Regions from separate parts of the Homo sapiens genome. Here region 1 is linked to region 2. The links are contacts of gene promoters, found by promoter capture Hi-C in blood cells and fetal thymus (Javierre and others, 2016). All regions are on one chromosome and are shown on one strand. The core of a region is centred on a gene start or on the middle of the fragment in contact, and the rest is flanking DNA. Distances in the headings are between cores, read along the strand shown. Region 1 has its middle 3.7 kb from the start of G3BP2. Region 2 holds the start of THAP9 (THAP domain containing 9).

Region 1 (7,251 bases), core at 287-2,786, 7.2 Mb before region 2:
AGCACAGCGTCAGCCAATCACGCATCTCCTCCAGAGCCGGACCCAACCTTCCCGTGTCCCTCTGCGGAGCACGCGCAGTACGCTGCCGCGCTCGCACACGCTCGCGCCCGGAAAGCCGGGGAACCGGAACCGGCCTAAAGCCAAGATAAGAGTCCGCTGATTTGACGTCACAAGCAGGCTGCCTTTCTCCGGTCCCGAGGCTCCAGCCTTGCCGCCCTTCTTCCTGATCGCGCAAGCGAGAGCTGGTTCGCAGCAACGCAGTGTCTTTTGTAGACTGATATTCTGGTCCTTTTTATTAATGGGAAGGAGGGAATTTAGTAATCTCTCTGAATAGGTGTCTGCAGGTTGCTGCTGTAGACGAGCTTAAAATGCAGCCGGTGATTTCAGCTGTTTGCACACTAAACTCACCTACATTGTTTACTTAACCCATCCTAGGTTTTAAGCCCCATTAAGAGGCCCTGCAGTAAAGGAAGAACATGACGTGGGCTTTACAGAGGGGGAAAAGACTATTTCTTTGTGTCCTTGTTACGAATTTAGGCATGGCTAAATATCAGTAGATACTAAAGCATTTTACATACTAAAGCTAAAAGAAGGCCTGAAATACAAGGATTACAGTCCTGTTCTAGCTCTAAGCCCAGACTTGCCCCCAGGGTGAGACACTGGTGACCTTGTTTCATGGACAAAGCCAAGCCAAATCTTGTAGTCAAGGAAGCCACTTTGCATCTTAGGTCTGGCAGTGTTTTCAGAGAATACCGAGATAGCACAGGAATTTTGGAATGAAGGACTGAGGAAGTGTTCAAAGAAACGGAAAGGAAAAAATACATTAATGAATGCTTACGAACTAAACATGGTGGACGCAAGCATGTACATCTCATCAGTTTTCTTCGCAATCCTGTAAGGGCAATTTTAAGGTATTTGGCATGTTAAGACAATACGTCAAATACCTTAAATATTGGCAGAGGCAATGCCAACATTAGGGCCTCCAAAGTCTACAATATCTTTACCTTTAGACTGCTTAAAGATACTGTTATATGCAAAATATTTGGGCAGACCATCACTTTAATGAAATCAACCTGATGTTTTTCCTTAAAGCATCAAAATACATTACATGCCGGCTGTCCTTTAATATACTGGGCTTATATACCAGGCATTCTTGTAATTATACAGCCTTCTGAGCCTCACAGTAACCCTATGAGCTAGTTGCTATATGTATGTACATATATATATATATATATATATATTTTTTTTTTTTTTTTTTTTTTAAGATGGAGTCTCTCTGTGTCGCCCAGGCTGGAGTGCAATGGCACGGTCTTGGCTCACTGCAACCTCCGCCTCCCGGGTTCAAGCGGTTCTCCTGCCTCAGGCTCCCTAGTAGCTGGGACTACAGGCGCATGCCACCACACCCAACTAATTTTTATATTTTTAGTAGAGACGAGGTTTCACTATGTTGGCCAGGCTGGTCTCGAACACACCTGACCTCGTGATCCGCCCGCCTTGGCCTCCTAAAGTGTTGGGATTACAGGCGTGAGCCACCGCACCCGGCCAGTAGTTGCTATTTTTATGCCCATTTTATAGATGAGAAAACAGGCTTGGAGAGGTCAAGTAACTTACCCAGGACTACACTGCTACTATTCACTGGAGCTGGGATTCAAACACAGGCAATCTGCCTCCACAGTCCATACCCTCAGGCAAACTATAGAATACTCCCATTGTACTAATTGCCGCAATTCACTTATCTGCCCTACTGCTGACTAACCTTCAAGTGTTTCCGGTTTGGAGCTCTTCCGTGCAATGCTATTATAAATATTCTTCACCATGTATCCTGCAGAGGTGCAGAACTTTCTCTAGAGCAGTGGTTCTCAGACCTTAATGTGCACCGAAATCACCTGTAGGGCTTGTTAAAACAGATAGTTGGGCCCCACTCCCTAAGTTTCTGATTCAACAGAGGCCCGAGAATTTGCACTTCTAACAAGTTCTCAGCTGATGGTGCTACTGCTGCTCTAGGAGCCACACTTTAAAAACCACTGATATAGGCCGGGCGCGGCAGCTCACGACTGTAATCCCAGCACTTTGGAAGGCCGAGGGGGGCGGATCACCTGAGGTCAGGAGTTTGAGACCAGCCTGACCAACATGGAGAAACCTCGTCTCTACTAAAAATACAAAATTAGCCGGGCGTGGTGGCGCATGCCTGTAATCCCAGCTACTCGGGAGGCTGAGGCAGGAGAATCGCTTGAACCTGGGAGGCGGAGGTTGCGGTGAGCTGAGATCGCGCTATTGCACTCCAGCCTGGGTGACAACAGTGAAAACTCCGTCTCAAAAAAAACAAACACCACTGATCTAGGGCAGAGGTGGGCAAACGGTTTGATAAGGGAAGGATTAGATAGTAAATATTTTTGGTTTTGAGCGCCACGTATGGTTTCTGTTGCATATTCCTCTCTCTCTCGCATCCTTTAAAAATTTAAGAAACATTTTTAGTTTAGCTCTAGAGCTACACAGAAACAGCCCTCAGGTAACCCTGCTCTTGAGTAGACACCAATAAGTGGAGTTAATGGGAAAAAAGATTCAGCGATCTTCAATGTTAAGTAAATATCTCTAACCTATTCTAACTGGCGATTTTTACCTCATAAACATATCTCTACACAAATAGCCCCTGCCCAGGTTCAGGCCCCTTCATCTTCCCAGGAAGACTGCAGTGGCCTCCTAACTAATCTCCCTGCCTCTCAAACATAGCCTCCATGAAGCAATGTCCACCTCCTATAGACTAGGCAGGGAGACCAGTGTGAACGGTATTCATTCGGTGGCTCAGGCCAAAAACCTCTTTTTCTCACACCAATTTATTGACAGCCAATTGCCAATAATTTTTTTTTTTTTTTTTTTTTTTTGAGATGGAGTCTCGCTCTGTCATCCAGGCTGGAGTGCAATGGCATGATCTGGGCTGACTGCAACCTCCACCTCCCAGGTTCAAGCCATTCTCCTGCCTTGGCCTCCCAAGTGGCTAGGACTACAGGCATGTGCCACCACGCCCATCTAATTTTTCTATTTTTAGTAGAGACGAGGTTTCACCATGTTGGCCAGGTTGATCTCGAACTCCTGACCTCAAGTGATCCACCCACTTCGCCGAATTGTCAATACATTTCTGTTCCCTCTACCTTCAACATTTATTCTGGATTAAATACTTTGCATCACTGTTACTGCTGCTATAGTAGTCCAGGCCACCATTGCCTATTGCAATAGCTTTCTACTTGGCCTCAATGCTTCCACTCTTATTCCACTACAGTCTGTTCCCCTCACAGCAGCCAGATCTTTCATAGTTATAATTGAGATGGTCCCAAAACCTTTAAAAGGCAACACAAAATCTCAGGTCCTTACCATGGCCTACAAGGCCTACCTGATCTAGTCCTTACCTATTACTTCCATTTCTTTTCTTACCACTGGTTTTCTCACACCACCCCAGCCAGCTCTTCCTTTGACATTCTCATCACATTACCACCCCAAGGCCTTTAATGTGAACCTTTATCAAAACACTGTGAAAAATAAAAGTAAATGAATCAGACCCAATCACCATTAGCAGGTAAATTTTTAAAAGTAAAATTACTAGAATTATATTACCTGATTCCTGATTTTTATTATAAACTTCAGCATAAAATACTTAGATAAGTATTTGAATAAGATAAGACATTTGAATTTATAAAGCTTTTCCTCTACACCCTTTCATTTGACCATTCTCAACTTTACTGAATACTAAAAGATCAACCAAGTCCATTATCACCACTTTTGCTGATGAAGTAGGTGTATACGAGATGACTACATGCGGCTGGGCGCAGTGGTTCACGCCTGTAACCCCAACACTTTGGGAGGCCCAGGTGGGTGGATCACGAGGTCAGGAGTTCGAGACCAGCCTGGCCAACATAGTGAAACCCCGTCTCTACTAAAAATACAAAAATTAGCCAGGCATGGTGGTGCGCACCTGTAGTCCCAGCTACTGGGGAGGCTGAGGCAGGAGAATCACTTGAACCCAGGAGGCGGAGGTTGTGGTAACCCGAGATCGCACCACTTCACTCCAGCCTGGGCAACAGAGCGAGACTCTGTCTCAAAAAATAAAAAATAAAAAAAAAAAGAGATGACTACATGCATGTTTAGGGGTCACACACCCCACATAAATAAGGTTTATGAAGACCAAGCATTGGAAGGGAGTAAAATCCAAGTCCTTAAGGGAAACGCATTTTTCTTGGAAAGTGTCTTTACTCACCATGTTTTTAAACTTTTAAGGCTTGCAAAACAAATGTCTTGGCCCCACTACTAATTCAGTTAGGAAGGATGATGCTGTGGATTGAATGTATGTGCCCCTCCAAAATTCATGTTGAAACTTAATCTCCAATGCAAAAGTATTAAAAGGTGGGTGGGACCTTCAGGCGGCAACTAGGTCATGAGGGCCTCACCTTCATGAATGGAATTCGTGTGCTCATAAAAGGGGATTGAGGGAGTTCATTAGTCTCTTTTGTGCTTTTGCCCCTTTCACCATGTGAGAACACAGCAAGAAGGCACCATCTTTGAAGCAGAGCAAGCCCTCACTAGGGTTGGCCCTTTGATCTTGAACTACTCAGCCTTTAGAACTATAAGCAATAAGTTTCTGTTGTTTATAAGTTACCCAGTTGAAGGGTGGTTTTGTTGTTGTTGTTGTTGTTGTTGTTTGAGACAGGTTCTTGCTTTGTCTGTCACCTGGCTGGAGTGCAATGGTGCGATCATAGCTCATTGCAGCCTCGACTTCTCAGCCTCCTGAGTAGCTGGGACCACAGGTGTGCACTACCGTGCCTAGCTTGTGTGTGTGTGTGTGTGTGTGTGTGTGTGTGTGTGTGTGTGTGTACACAGGGTCTCATTATGTTGCCCAATCTGGTCTTGATTGCCTGGCCTCAGGCCATCCTCTTGCCTCAGGCTCCCAAAGTGTTGAGATTACGGGCATGAGCCACACCTGACCTAAAGGTATTTTGTTATAGCAGCCCAAATAGACTAAAACAAATGATAATGCTGTCAACAGCATAGTATTTAAAGAGTCTGGCTGGGCACAATGGGGTATGCTTGTTGTCCCCACTACTTGGGAAGCTGAAGCAGGAGGATCACTTGAACCCAGGAGTTTGAGTTCAGCCTGGGCAATATAGCAAGACCCCATTTCCAAAAAAAATAAAAAAGAATCTGGGCTCCAGAACCACACTGCCTGGATTTGAATCCCAGCTTTATCTCATCACTTACTAGGTATATCACTATAGGCAGGATGTTTCACTTTTATGTGCCTCAGTGTTTCTCATCTGTAAAATGGGGACAATAATAATATCTACCTTATTAGGGTACAGTAAGGTTTAGACAATACATGTAAAACATTTTAACAGTGTCTGGCACATGGTAAGTGCTCAATAAACATCGGCACTTAATGTTTGGTTCTTGAAAAAGTATATGCACCAATTGCTTTCAACTGATTCCTTTTTCGCAGACTGCCCACTGCTTTGTTCTGAAGTAACAACTTACATTTGTATAGCATTTTACAGTTTTCAAAACACTTTCAAACACATTATCTCATTTCAATTTCACAGCAATTCACAAAGCAGGCAAGCTGCACAAGGCTAAAAATGGCCAATTTAGAAAGAGAGCCCAGAGTCCCTCTGACTCATGCCACTACACCATGTCCTACTGCTAAATGATGAACTTTTATAGACTTTGAACAAGACTTACTGATTGAAAACATGTTACTTGAGAATCCCAGGGCTCTCTCTTGGTGCAACTGGATCCTTTACAAAGCTTTTTAATGCACAGAGAAACCTACTCCCATGAGTAGGATGAATCCATTCATTTTAGAGCAAGAGAGGAGAAAGCCTATTATGACCTAAAGAAAGAATCAAATGTTAATTTCTCCCTGCAATCTTTCCAGCCATTATCTGTTTGTGAGGCTGGGACAGGTTAGGGTATAAAGGAGTGTTTTCCTCTCCAATCATTGTGAGTGTGTAAAATATGTCTCACATCCAGAAAAGTGCATGAAATGGCCTGCCAATCTGTGTGATGAAGTACAAAATGTCACAATATGAATGACTGCTATAGGTGGTAGATTTTAGGTATGTAACTTGTTTTGATCATATCTATGAAAGTCTATAAGTAGGTGAGATTCTACATGCTACCTGAGTTTGAGAGAACAAAGGTTGCAAGTTCTAAGAAAGTCACTTCTTCAGAATTTAGAGGCAATAGTCTCATAAAAAAATCAACATACAAAGAATCAGATTATCAATTATGAAAATAACCCACCCTGAATTTGTGAATTCTAACGGATTCCATTTAACACTCTTGAAGCCATGATGCCAGCTAAAAGCACCTCAGGCTGAGTAAATGAGGTGCTTTTCAGAGATAAAATAATCCTGGAAAGCAGAACAACTAAAGATAACATAAATGAATGAGGAGGCATTTGCCCTGAATCCAGAAAATGACTTTGAAAAGAGGAAATATTTCACCAGTGTTTATCTCACACTGTCCAAGATAGACTATATTTGTCAGGCAGGAATATCCTAGCCCTCAGTGGGCTGCAGGGTGTGTTTAATTCTTCAAGCCTTACAGTCTGGATATGAGACGCCACAAGGTTATCCAATTCTCTCCTCACCAAGCACTGTGACACAGAGAAGGGGGCCTGATCAGCAGATATTCTATGTCTTTGGATGGCATATCCCTTTGTGAAATGGAATTCCTGTGGTTTGTTCATCAGTCTCTTATAGATTAAGTTAATATAAAAGAGTGTGTCAGAGACAGATTTCCTTCTGAGGGGGGATAGGAAGTTGTACTGAAAGAAGTCAGGGCTGAGAGCAAATCCTCCACTTAAATATAGAAGCATGAAACACATGGGATCAAATCGCATTTTCTTCACTAACTACTTCTGTGACACTAGTCAGGTTAGTTCATTCCTCTGACCTTGACTTTCCTCAGTGGATAAACAGCCTACTTAGGATTGTTCTGAAGATTCTTTATGGCATTTAGCATACTTTCTGGCAAAGTGTGTATATGTGCATGATTCCTGTTATAAAACCGAGGCAAACCTTCAACATCAGGGGACCCCAACACAGTGCCACGCAACTTCATAGACAGCTAGCCAGGTTTCCCATCCATCCTTCCATTTCCCACTCTCCTCTTGGGACAAATACTTGGTTGTTTGGCAGTGTAAAGAAACTGTGGCCTAGCCAGGCGCAGTGGCTCACGCCTGTAATCCCAGCACTTTGGGAG
Region 2 (6,319 bases), core at 3,820-6,319:
TCAAAATAAATGTGTAAGTCCCATACCTTATTATATAAATCTTCAACTTCTTGATCAAATAAATATGACAAATGATGTTCTCTAAGAAAAACACCCTTCAATTTTATTCCTAAAACGAAAAACATTCAAAGGAACTCATTGTGCAGAAACACAATATATACAAGTCTCATCATTTTCTTTTTCTATTATGTCCTCATCCACATACATTAATCACAACAAATCATGATGTGAACAGCAGTGGAAAAAATTTAATCATTGGACATTTATTTCTTGAACTTCAGCTCTAGTTGTAAGATTCTCATTGCTTAGCTCTTTAAAACAAATGCATATATTTATCTAATGTAGAACAGTTAAGACCTCCAATTTTACTATAATTGGGAAAAAAACTCAGAACAAAGATTATGTCAAGTGTATCACTGTATTGACTTTGTTAACCTGCTATACATCTGACACAAGGGTAGGTGTTCAACAAGTGAAATACCAATCCTAAAAAGCCAGAAGTCTGTATCTGCTTTCATAGGGTTATTATGAGAAATAAATATTGTTTAACAGAACCAACTCTTTCTTTTTTGAGACAGAGTCTTGCTCTGTCACCCAGGCTGGAGTGCAGTGGCCAATCTTGGCCCACTGCAACCTCCACCTCCTGGGTTCAAGTGGTTCTCCTGCCTTGGCCTCCCAAGTAGCTGGGGTTACAGGTGCGTGCCACCATGCCCGGCTAATTTTTGTATTTTTAGTAGAGACGGAGTTTCGCCATGTTGGCCAGGCTGGTCTTGAACTCCTGAGCTCAGGTGATTCACCTGCCTTAGCCTTTCAAAGTGCTGGGATTACAGGTGCGAGCCACCATGCCTGGCCAAGAAAACCAACTCTTTCTATACACTATATATAAAAATCTTAGCAGCCTGGGCAACACGGCAAAACCCCTTCTCTACCAAAAATACAAAAAATTAGCCAGGTGTGGTGGCACACGCCTGCAGTTCCAGCTACTTAGAGAAGCTAATTGGAACTAGAGTATGGCTAGAAATTAGGTATTCCTACTCATATAATTTTCCTTGGGGTGATACTAACTTGGAAAGTTGAACTTTCTAAGAATTTTTCAAGGAATATTGTCCAATTTCTTCTGTGCAGTTATACAAATATTTGCTATAGGATGGAGTAAAGGTACAGATGTACAGCATCATTGAAGGAGTTTGACCTTTTTCCCCAAAGCTTGATTTTTATCCACTATGATGAATACATTTTACTAAATACTTGCTACTCTTTTCCTTCTGCTGCTTCCACCCCCACCTCCCACAGGCTTCTACTCCTCATCAGCAAAATATAGACCTTGTCAAGCAATCAGAATGTTCCTAATTGGCAGAACACTAATTCGTGCCTGAGATTTATAATCTTTTGAGTCTTCTTGTTTTCCTTTCATCACTGCTCAAAAGTTCTATTAGAAGAAAAAACACTCCCCCTTTTCCTTTAAGTCCTAGCACTGCTTCTGATATTTGGAAACCACTTGTCTAATAACAGAAGCATTACGTATAAAACAAAGCATAACTAGTTTTGGAGCGTATTAGGGTGTAGCTGCCCCTCCATATCAGGCTTGATGCTGAGAAGACACTTCCAAGTTAGCATGAGATTCTAGAAGTAGAAATAATTATGTAACAAATAATGATATAACAATAATTTCAAAACTCCATGGCTTTCTGAAACAAAAGACAGAACTCAAACAATGAAAAATTCGGCAACACAAAAGGGTAGGTCCTCAACAAGCAAGATACCAACCCTAGAAAGCAAGAAGTCTATACCTGCTTTCATAGAGTTATTATGAGAAATAAATATTGTTTAAGAAAACCAACTCTTTCTATATACTGTATATAAAAAGCTTAGCAGCCTGGGCAACATGGTAAAACCCTGTCTCTACCAAATATACAAAAAAAAATTAGCCAGGTGTAGTGGTACATGCATGTGGTCCCAGCTACTTAGGAAGCTGAGGTGGGAAGATTGCTTGGGCCTGGAAGACAGAGGTTGCAATAAGCTGAGATTGCGCCACTGCACTCCAGCCTGGGTGACAGAGTGAGACCCCATCTCAAAAAATAAAATAAAATGAAATGAAATTAAAAAAAGCTCAGCATAATTTGTGGCCCATAGTAACTGGCCAATAAATAAATATCTGTTATTATTCTTTCCAAGTGGACAATTAATGAGATTATATACCATAAAATAGGTAGATTTCATTAAAGCCTTAATAAATGTTTTTTACTTGGACAATCCTCCATTTCCAACTCACTGCTATAGTTCCAGGAATACTTAATACATTTAAAATAGAAAGATATACTACCTTCCCTGCATATTTTGAGTAATTATCTTCCAAGACCCATGTATCTTTTCTCAACATCTCTGAGAGTACAATTCCTGAAAAGAGATATTTTCTTTTAAAATTTTTTGTGCAATAGTCAATGCCTTTGCAAATAACACTATCTTTAATACAGCTTACATATCCTCATTTAAGTATTCAATAATCACAACGGTTCATTATGTGAACAGCAGTGAAAAGGTTTAATCACTGGATATGAAGTTACTAGAAGAAGCAATGATATAACCAAATGATCAGATTGAGAACTTCCATGTCAACAGTAAAATAATCACAACAACAAAAAAAGTATAGATAAGTTATAAACAAATGTAAAGATACAAAAATACAACTAAGAAAAAAAAATTCCATCTATAAAGGATTACTTATTTCCTATGCAGAAGTAAATATCTAGAGCAGTGACCCCTTGCGGCTATTGCCTTCATTTAAGTAAATCTGTTCTGATAAAAGCAGTTTTCAGAAATTCATCTGAAATTAACAATTAAAGGAATGTTGTCAGAATAATGTAGGAAGCACACTATTTCATCTTTAGGAAAGGCAAATAGTTGCAATCCAATTAAACAGGAAAGAAAACAGCCCTCATTTCAGATGATGAACTGGCAGCAGTACTTTCAACTCTACCTTAAGAAAATGGCAAGTGAATGCCTGTATCTGCAAACTTTTGAGTCCTTAAGAAAAGGCAAACACCACGATGAGACAGCCACTTCACATGCACAAAAATGTGGAGAAACTGGCAGCCTCATCCACTGCTGGTGGGAATGTAAAATGGTGCAGCCACTAGGGAAAATAATCTGGCACTTCCTCAAGAAGCTAAACACAGTTATCTTATGACTCACCAATTCCACTCTTAGGTGTGTAATCAGGAAAATGAAAACATTTGTCCACACAAAAACTTGTACACAAATGTTCATAATAGTAAAAAAAAAAATTGGAAAACCCAAATGTCCACCAACTGTTGAACGGATAAACAAAATCTGCTACATCCATAAAATGGAGTACGATTCAGCAATAAAAAATAAAGTACTGATACGTGCTATAAGATGGATGAACTCTGAAAACATTCCAAGTGAAAGAAGCCAGTCACAAAGACCATATATTAGTTCATAATTCCACTTACATGAAGTGTACAGAGCAGGCAGAGGCACACGGAAACTAAATTAGTGTTTGCTGAGCGGGGTGGGGGAATATTTGGAGGTGCTGCTAGTAAGAATGAGGTTTCTTTCTGGAGTGATGAAAATGTTCTAATATTGATTGTGACTGTTCCACAATTCTGTGCATATACTAAAACCCACTGAATTGTACACTTTAAACCAATTAGTTGTGTGGTATGAGAATTATATCTGAGTAAAACTGTTACAAAAATATAAGGCAACTAATTTTTTCCTTAAAGATAGCTAAAAACAATGTTATTTTTATTCAGCCTCACTCGGGTCTTAATTGGTTGAGCAGGAAAAGGCTCTAACAGCCCAACCAACTTACAGTATTTAAATCCAGTTCTTACTCTCTGCACACACCTTACAGCCAAAAAGTATTTGCCCTGCACATCCCCCAGGGACCAATTTTTCCAAAGTTCCTTGACCATCTATCCTTAGGCCATGTGACTTTTAAGGAACCATAACCAAAAGCTATTAATTCCATTCAGAGAAGATACAAGCATATTATAATGGAAAACTGGTGTGAATAAGTAATACCTTAATATGTATCTTCGGCTGTAATCTGGACAAAGTAAACACAAAGGGGAAAAAGAAGCAATCTTGTTAGGCCTGGATATTTGGAATTATTTTTGTGTGCTATACAAAGAAACGGAAAAGTTGCAAACCCTTCTCTGTTTTCTGTATGCTAAGGATCTCCTTCTCAGAGACAAAAACCCACTGGCCCGTTTCCTTCTCTAAGCAAATTGAAATCTCTTCCTCAAACATAAGAGCTTATAACTAAGACATTGTTCTAAGCTCTATCTCCTGAAAGCTATTCATAATGCCTCATTCCCAACCAAAACCACTTAATTGCCCCTTGTCCCCTGCCCCTATTACTACTGAGGAGCCCCAAGAACCTTACCTTATTTCCTTCATTGTGGCAAAGTGTTTCAGAAAAGGGTTCCTTGAATTAAAAGTCGGCGTATCCTATTTGACTCCTGCTCCTCCGGTATCACATACCTACAGCCAACCATGCCAAGAGCTTCCCCATTATCTCCGCATCGGAGAGCTACAAGATAAAGCGCAAGAACACGACACGCATCTCAGTAAATCATATATTTTTGGCCCGACTCTGTCTTCAACACACCTAAGGCACCGTGTTTTATCCCTCTTCCATACCCTTTCCTCCCGATATCCTCCAGTTTCAGAGACCGCACCCGGAGACCCATTGGCAGGTTCCTGGATTCGCCTCAATTTTGGTCCTGCCTCTCTGCTTCGCATTTTCAGGCTTGGCCTCACAAGAAGGACGATGGCGCCAGATTGTGCCAGAATGGGTGAAAACAGAAGGAAAATAAACCGGTTGCAGCAAAACCCACTATTCCGCCTCCAACGCGGAGGGAGGAGCGGTCAAATGCACGTCTTCAGGCTCAGGCCCTTCCGATTGGCTGCTGGGACACAACGTGGCCTGTCATTGGCTACGGCACCGGCGCAGGGCCTTCGGAGAGGAAGTGTGGAAGTCCCGCGCCTCTAAAGCCCGCCTTTCGTGACAAATAAAGGTCGTAGCCGCAGAGTCAACGGGCGGAGCTAAAGTGGTCGTGATTCATGCTGTCGCGGGAACCCCGAAGGTGGGGCCCCACGTAACAAGAAGATGACCCGAAGTTGCTCCGCAGTGGGCTGCAGCACCCGTGACACCGTGCTCAGCCGGGAGCGCGGCCTCTCCTTCCACCAGTGCGTATGGGAGCAGCCTCGAAGCCTTCGAACTCCCTGCGGGGCCCGGCGGGCCGTGGCGTGGCGTGGGGCGGGGCCGGGCCGCACTGTGGGTCGCGCCGCGTGTGTGACGCGACGTGACGTGCGCAGCGTCGGGGCGTGGGAGCGGAATTGGGGCACTGTGAGAATTGAGATTCTCTCTCTTCCCGCCCAGTGTTTACCTCTGAATAGCCGGTTCTCGCACCGCCTACCGCTTTAAGGAGAGTTACGCGAAAGGAGTCCTCCATTAATTGGATGGTCTTATTATTTGAAGTGAGGAGGCCGAAAGGGAAGGCAGTTTAGGACAACGGTTGAAGTGTGTGTGTGGCGTCTTCCTGAGCACGAGTACAGATCAGTTTTCTCCTGTACTGCCTGACATTGCAAGTTCTTAAGTGCTGTTAGCCGAGCTGTGCAAGGCCGGTCCGATTCTGGCTGGATTTGATCATGGCAGGGAAGTTTCATTTGGCTCGACAGTGGGGAAGAATTTCAGATCAGTCTTATCTGAACTCATATCCATGGTTCAGACTGGTATAGGTCATTCAGTATTCAGGGTACACTAGCAAGTAGAAAAGTGGGTAAAATAGATCCTCACAGACAAAAGGAGCAGATTTATGGAAAGATCAAAAAGAACTTTATGGTTGGAAAGGGGGGGTAGGAAGAGGGTAGTTAGGAATGGCATGGGAAAATGTAAAGGATAGAAAGTGCAAATATAGAGGAGTGGAAAAGTACCTGAGAAACCATTTTAAAAATGTAAATGCCAGGTTAAGGAGTTTAGAGTATGTATGGTAGGCTATGTATAAAATTCATTGATTTTTTTTTTTTTTTGTTTTCTATTTTTTAAATAGGGCTGATTCCTCCACCTAAATTGTTAGCAGTGTGAACCAACTCATTGTGTATGTGAGACCATAATTGATTTGGGATTTTTCTTGTGATAGAGGTAGTTTTAAACTAGGGAGACATGAATTCCAATTTTAATTGAGTATTTACTGATGTCTGTACTTGGCTCTGGGTCTTGGTTTCTTCTTCTGTAAGAGGAATAAAAACCTGCCTTGTAGAATTTTGTAAAACTAAAACGTAAGACTTT

Evidence for each region. The method cuts DNA at HindIII sites, captures the fragments that hold promoters and counts their contacts. A CHiCAGO score of 5 or more calls a contact.
Region 1: a fragment that was not itself captured here is called in contact with the fragment with the promoter of THAP9 in region 2 in 1 of 17 cell types (neutrophils); the score reaches 5.2 in neutrophils.

Annotation. Positions count from the first base shown.
Region 1 is chr4:75,673,479-75,680,729 of GRCh38, forward strand. It overlaps a transcript of G3BP2 not described here. Among named protein-coding and RNA genes, the nearest start is that of G3BP2, 3.7 kb to the left of the region's middle. RefSeq lists enhancers at 1-32, 769-1,746, 1,747-2,723. The HindIII fragment of the contact is 4,310 bases long and covers 1-3,691 here.
Region 2 is chr4:82,895,666-82,901,984 of GRCh38, forward strand. THAP9 (THAP domain containing 9) reads left to right here and starts at 5,070. Exons shown (of 5, transcript NM_024672.6): 1 at 5,070-5,217. The coding sequence starts at 5,138. It overlaps THAP9-AS1 (THAP9 antisense RNA 1), which reads right to left and starts at 5,251. Exons shown (of 4, transcript NR_034077.1): 1 at 4,669-5,251; 2 at 4,412-4,558; 3 at 27-109. It overlaps SNORD143 (small nucleolar RNA, C/D box 143), which reads right to left and starts at 263; the gene lies at 188-263. SNORD144 (small nucleolar RNA, C/D box 144) reads right to left here and starts at 2,560; the gene lies at 2,475-2,560. It also overlaps a transcript of SEC31A not described here. RefSeq lists enhancers at 4,515-5,034, 4,650-4,769, 5,035-5,554 and a silencer at 5,080-5,429. The HindIII fragment of the contact is 4,998 bases long and covers 1,866-6,319 here.